3 separate regions of the Homo sapiens genome follow, and regions 1 and 2 are each linked to region 3. The links are contacts of gene promoters, found by promoter capture Hi-C in blood cells and fetal thymus (Javierre and others, 2016). All regions are on one chromosome and are shown on one strand. The core of a region is centred on a gene start or on the middle of the fragment in contact, and the rest is flanking DNA. Distances in the headings are between cores, read along the strand shown. Region 1 has its middle 20 kb from the start of MAP9-AS1. Region 2 has its middle 25 kb from the start of MAP9. Region 3 holds the start of FGB (fibrinogen beta chain).

Evidence for each region. Contacts are between HindIII fragments. The CHiCAGO score rates a contact against its expected background, and 5 or more counts as called.
Region 1: a fragment that was not itself captured here is called in contact with the fragment with the promoter of FGB in region 3 in 3 of 17 cell types (naive CD8 T cells, monocytes and naive B cells); the score reaches 8.0 in naive CD8 T cells.
Region 2: a fragment that was not itself captured here is called in contact with the fragment with the promoter of FGB in region 3 in 5 of 17 cell types (total B cells, naive CD4 T cells, total CD8 T cells and 2 more); the score reaches 6.0 in total B cells.

The regions. Positions count from the first base shown.
Region 1 is chr4:155,331,399-155,336,091 of GRCh38, reverse strand. No RefSeq gene overlaps it. Among named protein-coding and RNA genes, the nearest start is that of MAP9-AS1, 20 kb to the left of the region's middle. The HindIII fragment of the contact is 3,552 bases long and covers 952-4,503 here.
Region 2 is chr4:155,400,141-155,404,377 of GRCh38, reverse strand. No RefSeq gene overlaps it. Among named protein-coding and RNA genes, the nearest start is that of MAP9, 25 kb to the right of the region's middle. The HindIII fragment of the contact is 3,059 bases long and covers 180-3,238 here.
Region 3 is chr4:154,561,603-154,566,062 of GRCh38, reverse strand. It overlaps FGB (fibrinogen beta chain), which reads right to left and starts at 3,052. Exons shown (of 8, transcript NM_005141.5): 1 at 2,931-3,052; 2 at 64-255. The coding sequence starts at 3,044. The HindIII fragment of the contact is 2,847 bases long and covers 356-3,202 here.

The DNA of each region.
Region 1 (4,693 bases), core at 1,478-3,977, 770 kb before region 3:
GGTGGCTCACACCTGTAATCCCAACACTTGGGAGGTCAAGGCAGGTGGATTGCTTGAGTTCAGGAGTTATAGACCAGCCTGGGCAGCCTCGGGAGACCCTGTCTCTACAAAAAACACAAAAAATAGCTGGGTGTGGTGGTGCACACCTGTAGTCCCAGCTACTCGGGAGGCTGAGGTGGGAGAATCACTTGAGCCAGAGGAGGTTGAGGCTGCAGTGAGCCGTGATTGCATCACTGCACTCCAGCCTGGGCAACAGAGAGACCCTGTGTCAAAAAAGAAAAAAAAGGCTGGGCACGGTAACTCATGCCTGTAATCTCAGCATTTTGGGAGGCTGACGCAGATGGATCACTTGAAGTCAGAAGTTCAACAACAGCCTGGCCAGTATCCTGAAACCCCTTCTCTACTAAAAATATAAAAAAATCAGCTGGGCGTGGTGGCATGCACCTGTAGTCCCAGCTACTCGGGAGGCTGGGGCAGGAGAATCATTTGAACCTGGGAGGCAGAGGTTGCAGTGAGCTGAGATCGCACCACTGCACTCCAGCCTGGGTCTCGCAGCGAGACTCCACCTTAAAAAAAAACAAAAAAGAAGAAGAAGAAAGAGAAAAAAGAAAAGGGGTCCCAGACTGAACCCTAGGGTAACCCAACATTTTGAGGTCAGAAGGATGAAGGGACTCAACACCTGAAACTGAGAAAGAAAAGCCAGTGTGGTTAGAGAAAATCCAGGAGAGGTGCATTCCTTGGAAAGCAATGAAATAAAGTGCTTCAAGAAAGAGAATGACCAAGTAATCAGAAGACTGATGATTGACTTATTTGGTAATATGGAAGTCAGTGTTGACCTAAGAAATTAAGATTTCAACAGAGTGATGGGGATGAAGACCTGGTTAGTGTTTTCAAGAAAAAGAAGGGAGAGAGGCAATCAGAATCTAAGTATAGGCCACTTTTCGATAAGCTTTGCTAACAAGGAACAAAGAAAATTGGAGAGGGAATCATAGATGAAGGGGATATGGGGTCAAGGCTGGCTTTATTTGTTTTTAAGATAGAAGAATTTATAACTTATTTGCAACAATCATTTAATAAAAAATGAAATGGAATTATGCTTCCTATGCTTTTACAGGCAGCAGATATGGTAGCATTGCAGAAATCAACTAATTTAGGTGAAAATTATGTGTGCCATGCTGACAATAATGTTAGTATTTTCCCCTTTAGCAAGCACAATATAATAAGGAAACCATAATATTGAGTTATAAAGTTGAAATGCAATGTCTGTATATCATGCAGACTACTTGATATCTATTAAGGTCCTTTCAGGACAATGGTATAAATTTCTGCTCTTGCTAAAAAAATATTGACCAGCTGTAAAAGTTGGCAATAATTAATGTTTGTTTGGAATATTTACAAACAAAAAATTCAAGGCTTTGGATAAATTTCCCTAAGTAACAAATATGTTTATATGAAAATTCATTAAAATAATTATAATTTACTATAAATGAACAAGTAATCACAGAAAATATATTATGCAAATATACTTACACATAATAATTTTTAAATTGAAGAAAATACTTACAAGGAAAATAAATAGAAAATATAAATACTCCAGATATATATATATAGTACATTAAAATTTTCAGCTTAGATTGAATGTCTCATTTAAAACTACCCCCATACTAAGAAAAGAAAACAATGACCTTCAAATAAATTATAATTATTACCATCCATGAGTCATGACAGCAAGTGAAATCTGTCATAAATATATAAAAGCAGCTTCAAGGTGTTTTTCACAGGGCAAAAGTATATGTTTTATTAATGAGTCATATAGCAGAGTTGCTTATTTAGAAATTCCCAATAAGATGAGAAAACAAGTCGATGTGTTCTTCATTGTACTTAAACACTCAAACTAAACAAGACTATTACCTGTTTTAATTTAATTAAAAATTAAAACTAGGCCCTGTTTGTCCATTTTTGTTTGTGTTACAATTGCTTTTGGTGACTTTGTCATAAATTTTTTGCCAAGGCTGATGTCCAAAATGGTGTTTCTAGGTTTTCTTCTATGAAACTTTTATAGTTTTAGGTCTTACATCTTTAGTCCATCTTGAGTTACTTTTTTAACATGGTGAAAGAAAGGGGTCCAGTTTCAATCTTCTGCATATGGCTAGCCAGTTATACCAGCACCATTCACTGAATAGGGAGTCCCCTCCCCATTGCTTGTTATTGTCGACTTTGTCAAAGATCAGATGGTTGTAGGTGTGTGGCTTTGTTTCTGGATTCCCTATTCTGTTCCATTGATCTGTGTATTTGTTTTTGTGTCAGTATCATGCTGTATTGGTTACTGTAGCCTTTTAGTGTAGGTTGAAGTCAGTAGTGTGATGCTTCTGGCTTTGTTCTTTTTGCTTAGGATTGCTTTGGCTATTCAGACTCTTTTTTGATTCCATATGAATTTTATAATATTATTTTCTAATTCTGTGAAAAATGACATTGGTGGTTTGATAAGAATAGCACCAAGTCTATAAATTGCTTTGGGCAGTATGGCCATTTTAACAATATTGATTCTTTCTATCTATGAGCATGACCTAATTAAACTAAAGAGCTTCTACACAGCAAAAGAAATTATCGATAGAGTAAACACACTTACAGAATGGGAGAAAATATTTGCGAACAATGCATCTGACAAAGGTCTAATATCCAGAATCTCTAAGGCACTTAAACAATTCAACAAGCAAACAACAAACAACTCCATCCAAAAATGGGCAAAAGACATGAACAGACTCTTCTCAAAAGAAGACATACATGCAACCAACAAATACATGAGAAAATGCTTTACATCACTAATCATTAGAGAAATACAAATCAAAACAACGAGATACCATCTCGCATCAGTCAGAATGGCTATTATTAAAAAAAAAAAGTCAAAAAATAACAGATGTTGGTGAGGTTGTGGAAAAAAGGGAACACATACTCTGGTGGTGGGAGTGCAAATTAGTTTAGCCACTGTGGAAAGCAGTGTGATTTCCCATAGAACTTAAAATAAAACTATCATTTGACCCAGCAATCCCATTACTGGGTATATAACCAGAGGAAAATAAATCATTCTACCAAAAAGATACCTGCATTTGTCTATTCATTGCAGCACTATTCGCAATAGCAAAGACATGAAATCAACCTAGATGCCCATCAATGGTGGTTAAAGAAAATGTGGTACACATACACTATGAAATACTATGTGGCCATAAAAAGAAATAAAATTATGTACTTTAGAGCCGGGCGCAGTGGCTCACACCTGTAATCCCAGCACTTTGGAAGGCCCAGGCGGGTGGATCACGAGGTCAGATTGACAGCATCCTGGCTAATAAGGTGAAACCCCGTCTCTAATAAAAATACAAAAAATTAGCCGGGCATGGTGGCATGCGCCTATAGTCCCAGCTACTCAGGAGGCTGAGGCAGGAGAATCACTTGAACCTGGGAGGCAGAGGTTGCAGTGAGCCAAGATTGCACCACTGCACTCCAGCCTAGGTGACAGAGTGAGACTCTGTCTCCAACAATAACAACAACAGTAACAACAACAAAAATTAACTAGTTTACAGCAACGTGGATGCAGCTGAAGGCCATTACCCTAAATGAATTAACACAGGAACAGAAAGCCAAATACTGCATATTCTCACTTATAAGGGGGAGCTAAACATCGGGTAAACATGGACATAAAGATGACAACAATAGACACCGGGGACTTCTAGAGGAGAATGGAGAGAAGAAGATGTGGTTTGAAAAACTACCTATCAAGTACTAAGCTCAAGACTTGGGTGATGGGATAATTCATACACCAAACCCTATGTGCAGGTTTGTTGCAATTTACCCATGCAACAAACCTGCACATGTACCCACTGTACCTAAAAGAAAAGTTGAAAAAGAAAATGAAAACATTAAAACGTGATTAAATATATAGTATATTAGAGACTTTAAGGATTTAACCCAAATAATTTCAAATATACTTTCCCTTTTCCTTTCAAGTTATTTTAAAAGTTAACAGATAAAATGTTTTTATGTCTCTGTCTCATCATGTGGTGAACAAAAACAAAGAAAGCCCGTGAACAGAGAGCAGGGTTTTCAGATGTCAAGTGGCTTTCCATGTGGAAGCAGAAGTTATAAGCATGTGACAACCTATAGCCTTTTCAGAGCTATAATTATTTCTGTTAACTTTTGGAATTTAGTAAAAACACAGTCCCTTCTGACCTTTTCTGGGTTTTTTGATATCAGCTGTATAGACAAATAGCCTGAACTAAAAATCAGTCAGGTTAGAGTTCATTGTTACCACTATAAGTTACAGACATTGTCAGTTACTTAGCCAATAGCCATTCCTCAATTCTTCTTTGATAACAGAACCATAGTTATGTCTAGAGCAATAAGGTGCCCAGTCAAATGCTGACTTTGCATCTTTTCTGTGGCTATTGGTGACCAGATGACACAATTCTGCCAGTGCAACTTGAGTTGTCTTCTAAGTTTAAGTAAGCTTTGAATTTCCTAATAAAAGGACAGATACAGTGAGGTTTTCTACCTTCTTTTTGCCTTGTACATAGACATGATGGTAGGAACCACAGCAGTCATATGGTAATAATGAGGGAAAAGCAAGGGAATTCCAGATATATTGACTGCTGAAATAAAGCAACAACTGCTATTTCTGGACCTACATTCTTATAATAAA
Region 2 (4,237 bases), core at 460-2,959, 840 kb before region 3:
GAACCCTAACTATGAACAATGATCCTGGTTGAGTTTGGGCGGGTGGGGAAAGGATTGGGAGGTGAGCAGCTTACATTAAGTCTTTTAAAAACATGGATTTAAACAATATTTTCTTGACACATTAAACTAGTAAATTTCTACTTTCTAATATAAAGAAAAAGCTAATCATTCAAAAAGCTTTATTAAATGATGTAAATAGCTTTGTTTCAATGTAACTTTTAATCACTATAAGCAAAATGAAGTATCTCAAGAATACTAATGATTACATTCATGTTTCCTCTGGATAGTAAATCCTTTGCTGCCATCTTCTGGAACTTGATTATTAACGTATACTCTGGGCTTCCCAGAAGAGACAAAAGAATAATTACATCCTTACATGAGCACAATGCTGACGCCAAATTAGCTGTATGCACGTGCTAAATCATTTCTTTTATTCTCATTAACCTACAGTCGGGCTCTGGACTTCCCTTGAGAATCCTGAATGGGATTATTTTTTTACAAAGAAATTCCCACTAAGTAATGCCTGGGCTTTCTTCAGTGCTGGATTTTAATTCCACAAAAACTCATAATCTTACAAATGCATATAATGATAACAGATAAAATAGAACAATTTGAATAAAGAGTAACGTGTAAATAAGTGATTAAAAAAACTTGAAACTATGTTTACCCTCCCCCCCCCTTTTTTTCAAACATTAGTTTGGGGCCCTTTATTTAGGAAATCTTAATCAGAAATCCAACATACAAACAAAGAGAACTGGGCATCCACTTGTATCCTTCTTCAAAAAAGTGCCTAAAAGTATATTTGCATTCGTGTGTGAAACTAGATTTGTCTTAAAGGGATCATGTACAAAGCAGGAAGGAGCCAAGCAATTCCAGAAAGGTGGATGAACAGAGGAGCTACACATGGGAGAAATGATGCAAAAAGACAGTGTGTGCTAATCGATCAGGAAAGAAGGAAAGCACTGGGTTAATTTCTTACATAACAATAATGTGGTTTTATATATGTGAGATGCCATTAAAAGTAAAGATTCCTTAAAACTTCAGTGATACAATAGAGGCTATATAATCAATCTTGTCTGGGACATTTCCAGGAAAAAGCAATGTTCTTTCAAACCTATCTGGGTCTTAAGATGTGACTGTACTGTGCGCTTTCCCTTCACCACTCACGTCTGGAAAGATAATGAACTCCCTCAGCCCCACTTCCTTATCTCCCATTCACTTGCAGACTTAATCAGTCATGCTTCAGCTTTCTTCTCTCCCAGTTGAAGCTGGTGAATGTTTAACTCTTGGGATGGGGAAGGATGTGAGAAGGGAACACCCTGATTTGTAGCATTGTAGCATTTGCTGATTTCAAGTAATTCCACCATCACTGATCTAAAGCTGATGTCATTGAATGCAGAGCTGGGCTTGGATGTGCACAAGAGACTCTCCTGAGTAGGTATGAGCTCCAGTGCACAAGGGCCTCTGCTGAGTAGGTGTGAGATCCAGCACACCTCTCTCTAATCCCTCTATTGAAACTGCTCTTACCTAGGCATGGTACAGATCCCAGTGACCTCCTAAGGAAAAATCTAGTTTGCTTCTCTACTTGACTAACAGGCAGCATGAGCCACTCCCTTATTGGTGAGCCATTCTCCTCTTTGGTTCTCTTCCTATTTCCCTGGCAATTTCTTGCCTTTCTGTGCTACGTACAACCTCTGCCCATAACTTGATAGATGCTTCCTAGGGTCCTATCCTCTGCTCCCTTCTGTATTCACTCCCCTTATAATCTCAGCCCCTCAACCACTCCCATATATCACAGGCACCTCCAACTCAGGGAGTCCCAGTCTGACATCATGCTGTCCCCTCTTCCTTTTTTACCTGCACCCGGCACACACTTCAATCGTACTATTTACCATAGTTTAAAAATGTATCTATTCCTCTCTATATTCACTGATATTGCCTAATTTCATCTGCATGTCATATCTCTCCTGAGCAAATGCCACAGCTTTTTGGGTGATTTTTTTTTGTCTACCCTCCTTTCAAATTCTTCTCCCCACAACCACCATTCATCTTCCAACTCAACTGTCAAAATTACACTTCTTTGGCACAGTCTAATTACATTTCCTGCTTTCTCCCATTTTTTCTCTAGGTTAAAATATTAATTGCACAGGCCATAATCAATCCTGCTTCCCTGCCATGTGTAGGAGGCACCAACAGAAATACAACTTATTAACATAAAGTTGTATGTTTTTCCCATTCTGAGCACCAGAATCTTGACTGAAAAAGTCAGGTATATGAAAATATAGTGTAGGGGTTATATGAATATCTGATTGCTGCCATAGTCATTTACTGTCTTACAACACCATCTCCAGACAGTTCTAGAGACCACAAGTCTGAAATGCATGAGCAGGGATGCACTCCTTCTAGAGGCTTTAGGGGAGAATCCGTTCCCTGCTCCTTCCTAGCTTCTAAGGGCCATGACCCTGCATCACCCCAACTTCTGCTTCCATCGTGGTCACACCTCCTCTCTGATTCTTACCCTCTTGTACTCCAATTGTATGGACCCCTGTGACTACACTGGGCCCACTCTGATAATCCATAATCTCCCCATTTTGAGATCTTTAATTTAATCACACCTGCAAAGTCTCTTTTGAAATGCAAGTTAACACATTCACAGGTTCTGGGAATTAGAACATGGACTTTTCTGAGAGTTAACTACAGGGGTTAGTTAAGAACGCTGGCTCTGGGTCCAATCCTGGTTCAATTAATTAAAAGCTACTTGCCTGGATTTGAGTGATCTGTCAGCCACAAGTTTACAGAACTGCCCCTTAGAGGTGGAGAAACTTTTTTTTTTGTTTTTAAGAGACAGAGTCTGGCTCTGTTGCCCAGGTTGCAGTGCAGGGGTGCAATCAAAGCTCACTGCAGCCTCAGACTCCTGGGCTCAAGCAATCCTCCTGCCTCAGCCTCCAAAGTAGCTAGAACTACAGATGCATGCCACCACATCTGACTAATTTGTAAATTTTTTGTGGCAACGATGTCTTGCTATGTAGCTTAGACTGGTCTCAAACTCCTGGCCTTGGCCTCACCCTCCCAAAAATGCCAGGATTACAGACACGAACCATGGCAACTGGCCAAAATAAGGATTCTTAAATAATCCCTTCATTCATCCTTTTAACACTCAGTAAGCATTCATTAAGTGCCGTTTACATGGCAGGCCCTATTCTAGGCTCTGGAAAAGAGTAGTGAACTAAATAAAGCTTCTTACCCTTAGAGAATTTATATTGTGGTGAGAGAAAACAGACAAATAGATAAACAGAATGCACAGTGTATCAAGTGCTATCAAGTGGCATGTCATTGAAGAGAAGGGAGACAGGGAATATGGCCTTTACAACTTTGAATGGAGCTATTTTAGAGAGTGGGGTTGTCAGCTCTGTCTCTGAATTGCTCTATGAACTTGGGCAAGTTTTATATGGCCTTGGGCAAATCTCCTAATCTGGTAGCACAGCTTCTTATGTGCAAGATGGTGATAATGTTTTATGAGGATGAACAGATTATATAATACAAAGTGATCATCATAAAATAAGCACTCAGCATATTTATTTATTTATTCGATAAATACTTACTATGTATTTACTTACACTGTTCCAAATGCTTATTAACTCGTTGAGCTATGTGTTACTTTGTTCTCCACCTTCCACCTAGAATGAATCTCTTCTAGTTAGATGAATTCATCTATTATGTGTTGATTCTTGGTTTCAACATCATCTCCAGGTTCTTGAGGCTGTTTCTGAGGCACTCCAGTAGAGAAAGTCTGCTTATTCCCTCCTTCCTCCCCTCTGCCTCAGGCACTTCCGTTAGTATTTCCAGCTTGTGTGCATCCAAACACCAACAGCAGTGGTGGGAGCATTTTCGTGCACAGGCCCGAGGAACATGAAAAGCTTACTCTGTGCCAGGCTGTGGGATAGGCTCAGACTGAAGGAAACTGAGTCCTTATCCATGTGGAACATACTTGGTTGAGGAGGGAGGACGGGAAAGTAAAGTCGACCAATAGATTACCAAAATAAACTGAGAATGATAAGTGCTATGAAGAGGGGAAAAAAAACAAATAGCTGAGAGTCTCTGAGAGCTAAGGTACTTCACTAGGTGAAGTGGTCTGAGAATTATTATCTGACCATTGAACTAAGACGTAAATAAAGAAAAGCAAGCCATGTGGAATGTTCCAGGAAAGGAGCATTTGGAGCAGTGGGAACATCGTGTG
Region 3 (4,460 bases), core at 1,803-4,302:
CCATGACTACAGGCTTTCTCTGCATGAGAGAGCCACCACTGCAAGAAACATCAGTGCACCCACCAGGTCTGGGTCAGCGTGAAGACAGCCTCCAGCATCAGGGGCTTTTCTTTCTACTTTCTTTTGAGTGGCAGCTGCTTTGGCTGGACGAGCCCGATAGCCACCTCCACTGATGGGCGGTGGGGCAGGCCTCAGGCTGGGAGCCTCTTCTCTCTTCTTGTCAAGGGGTCGATGACCACGGGCACTGAAGAAACCCTACAAGGAATGAGGCAGAAATATAATACAGAGTGTTATAGAAGATTTGGAATGTAACTATTCCAACACCCTCATTTTATAATTTAGGTTATCACAAGCTTGATAATTTGCTTAAGATCCATCAACTGGCTGGTTGGTGATAGTGAATCTGTAGGTTGCTTACTGTTCAGTAACAGTAGAAAGACCAACTGCACAAAAAAGCTATGATGCAGTGTAGTTTTTAAAGAGAGGCCTTAGGATAAAGCTGTATCAGATTATGAATAGTAATGACCTCATATTCCTAAAACATACATTGGAACTTACGAAATTGTAAAGAATCTATACTGTCAAGAAGAATGAATATTCTCAAGCCACTTGGATTGTTAGATTCCTATGATTATTGTTAATCATTTCCCTACTTTCATTTTTGTGAATTGGTGATTAGACTCCTATATAAACATATTTAAGAGACATTAAAGACTTATTAAAGGTTGATTCTACTTGGAATTTATTTGTAATAAGACAATCTTTGACCCTCATAATGTACTCTGGAGCTCGGCTACTTGTAGGTCTTGACCGTAGGGTTGACTTACAGCTATGAGACCTTGGGCAAGTTGCTTTATCTGTGCCCCAGTTTTCTCATCTGTAAAATAAGTGTAATGATAGTTTGAATCTGCCTTACAAGATTATTGTAAGGATTAAATAACTTATTGCATATGGTACCCTCAGAACAGTACTTGGCAATAATAAGTGCTCATTACTATTTTTACTGGAATCACACATAACAAGTACTACAGTTTAAGTGTCCTCTCCACTTCGAATTTCACTTTTAGTCTTATCTTCTATCAACAAAATTATTTGTTAAACCATTATCTTGAAATTTCTTACATGATTTCTTTATCAAACATTATGATTTTCTTATATTTAAAATAATTCTCAAGGCTTGTGCATTGTAATTAAAATTACTTGCTAACTTAAAATATTATATTAAAGGATAATGAAGCAGAAAATACGCATTGCAATAGGAAAGTTTTGATTTGGATTAACTACATTCTCATTTTTTTTTTTGTCAGTAGCTATACATCCTTTGGAGCTTAATTACAAATTAACAAACGACATGATTTGGAACAACTGAGCAACAACTGAGCTCTCTTGCAATTTTGTGAGTCTAGAAGTCATCAGATGAACTCTATTTGGAATTGCATTGTCATTTATTCATTAGATTATAATATTATTTAACATTTAGTAGGATGGTGCTAAGATTAAAACCCAGCCAGGCTGGTTCCAGATTTTCCTGTTTAACCAGTTGACTATATACATTCTTAATATGTAAAGATTCGGAGGATATATACATATTTCACATTGAAGTCATGGTCCTAGTCAGAGCTTACCCTCTCTAAAACAAATTTTAAGAAATGTGATTCATCTGCTTATTACAAATACAATTATAACAGAGAAAACTATTTTCTTTTTATTTCAGAGTGCCACTAGAGAGGTAGCATGGATGGTCTGGCTTTACTAGAGAAAAGGAAATTTTAAAAAATATTTAAAGAAAGTATATACTTAAAGAAAAACACTTAAAGAAATTATGAAGGCCACTTGTTGAATAATCAAAATCCATTTTAAAGCCTAAACTATTAAACTATCTCTGTGAGGTTTAGTTGATAAGCAGAAATGTGAAAGTGCTTTGCAGAGTACTTTACAAAAATTTCGTCTTACACATTCTTTACATTTTTCTTACCTAATATGATTAACCAGACTTAACCAGATTAACCATATGTTTTTACACACACAACCAGATTAACTATATGTTCTTACATGTAGAGTCTGATAAGTACAACACTCAAGTTCCCTTGAAACTCAATAATGATCCGAAATGAATCACTTCATTTAAATATTATTGTGTATTCTTATTTCTAGTTTAATGATACTATGCTATATGTAAGAAATTTGGCCATGATACGTTTGATGATAAAATTTAAATTTCTTAAATATCCATTGTCCTAAATGCATTTCTGTATTTTTAGTAACTGCAAATTAACAGCAATAAGTCAGCAAAAATAATAGTTGAGGACAAACTGTTCTACAAATAAATAAATTAGACTGAACCGTGTTTCATAACTATTAATAATAACAATACACACTAACTCTAATTTGAACTTTTCATCTGAAAAAAGCAATATTTCATTTTCTATCATTACACTTGATGTATTTTGCTTTTAGGCTTAGTTATAATTTTTATAAATAGTAATCTCAGTAACAATATATATTACCTTCCTTCACCAAAGAACAATCTACCTACCACCAGTTTCTTTTATCTTAAAATTCTGCTCTTTTATTATTTTATAGTTTGTGAGATTTTCAGATCTTGTCCTCTTAATTGTAATCCTGTATTGCTAGAAGTAAATGAAAATCACAGTACTCAGAATAGCAAGTGAGAAAAACACATCTTACATTAGCTAAGCCATCCTCATCTTAAGAAAACAAAGGTGATAAACTAGAAAACAAGAAATTACTTTGTTTTTATATAAGAAATACTATGAAACATTCTTTAAATACAATAAGTCAGAGGTTAACAATTCCATTTCATAACTATAAGCAATGCTAATTTCATTAAAATAAGCACATAATATGATTATGTTACATCTTATATTAATAATACTACTAATAATATAATAATGCTTTAAAAAATTCACCTCCTCATTGTCGTTGACACCTTGGGACTTAACTAGAAAAACACACAATAGTAGCAATAATAGATGTTTCATGGTTTTAAGTTTGTGGAAGCTCCAAGAAACCATCCTTTTCATGTAGACTTAACTGAGAGATCTTCAATCCTATATATATCTGAGTCCTCTGCTAGGAATGACTTCAGAAATGGTTACCTTTCCTTAGTTAATATTTAATTTTTGGTTCACTTGTTGGCTGAACCATTTTATCATTTAAGCAACATCTTCCCAGCAAAGCTTATTTACTTGTCATACAACTATTATTCTTTGTTGGTCTAGTTTAGAAACATTAAATTTCTTCAATTCATTTAATTGGACAAAATGATGGGAAGTTAGGGCACTCCTCAAAGAGAGATGTGTATCTTGTTTCTGGTAAATTAATGTGGAAACTACACAAGCTCCGAAAGAATATGTGAGAAAACAAATCTAAGCTTAGTAAATTTGACCTACTCACAAGGCAACCACTAAAATCGTGACTCATTAATGATATACCATAAATGCTTATGTTTTCTGACAATGACATAATTCTATTTCAAAAGGGGCCATTAAAATCAATAGTAATGTTATATCATAATGTGTTTATCTTTTGTTTTAGACATTAATCAAAATAACAAAATAACAAATTCATACCCTATTCTATGAAAAATACACATCAGAAAGACCCTTTTTTTGTGCTGAATAGCTTTAATATTTTGTCCTTAATTCACATAAGGTAAAATGTTCAACAAATTCTAAACATTATTAAGATAACTAATAAATTATAGATTTCTGAATCAAAATTATGATGATGATTAAATACATGTTTAACATTCTATTTTATTGTTATATAGTTTATATCATATGATTTATAAAAACAATGTTATTTTAACACTGGTGAAGTCTTCATACATCTATTTCAATTAGTATGCTCACAGACTAAATGAGGCCCATTTTCCTTCATTTCCCACAAGCCACAAAATTTATCTCTCTTGTCTGTTCACTTGTGTGTTGCAATCAGGATTAATAACTCCTACAAGAATCAATAGGAACACCAGTCAGTAATCCAAATCCCAGTAAGTGCATTGATTCAAAGCATTTTTCTGTTTTTTGTATGGAAAGTGAAACATTCTCATTAAATTTATAAATTATTTTATTAAAAAGATGGCAGGTTATCAGGGTTTGGATCAGCGTATTGAAACAATGCTTTGAAACAGAGTCTTGAGAATGGTGTGGGACCCACGACATTTCTTTCTTCTCCAGGTAGCAGAGATTGCATTCCCAAATTCTTTTAACTCAGATTCCTAGAAACAAATTATTCTCTTGGTAGCATAGGTTGTCCTCCCAAATTCTTTTAACTTAGCTTAATAGAGACAAAGTACTCAGTTTAAATTAAGAAAAAATATTCACTTGAGTCTTTCCAAATTTGTGTTCCCTTTATTAGCAATGAGTAAATATTATATTTTAAGATTTTTTTCTTTAGCTTTAATGGTTTTTAAAGGGATACATGATCTGACAGAA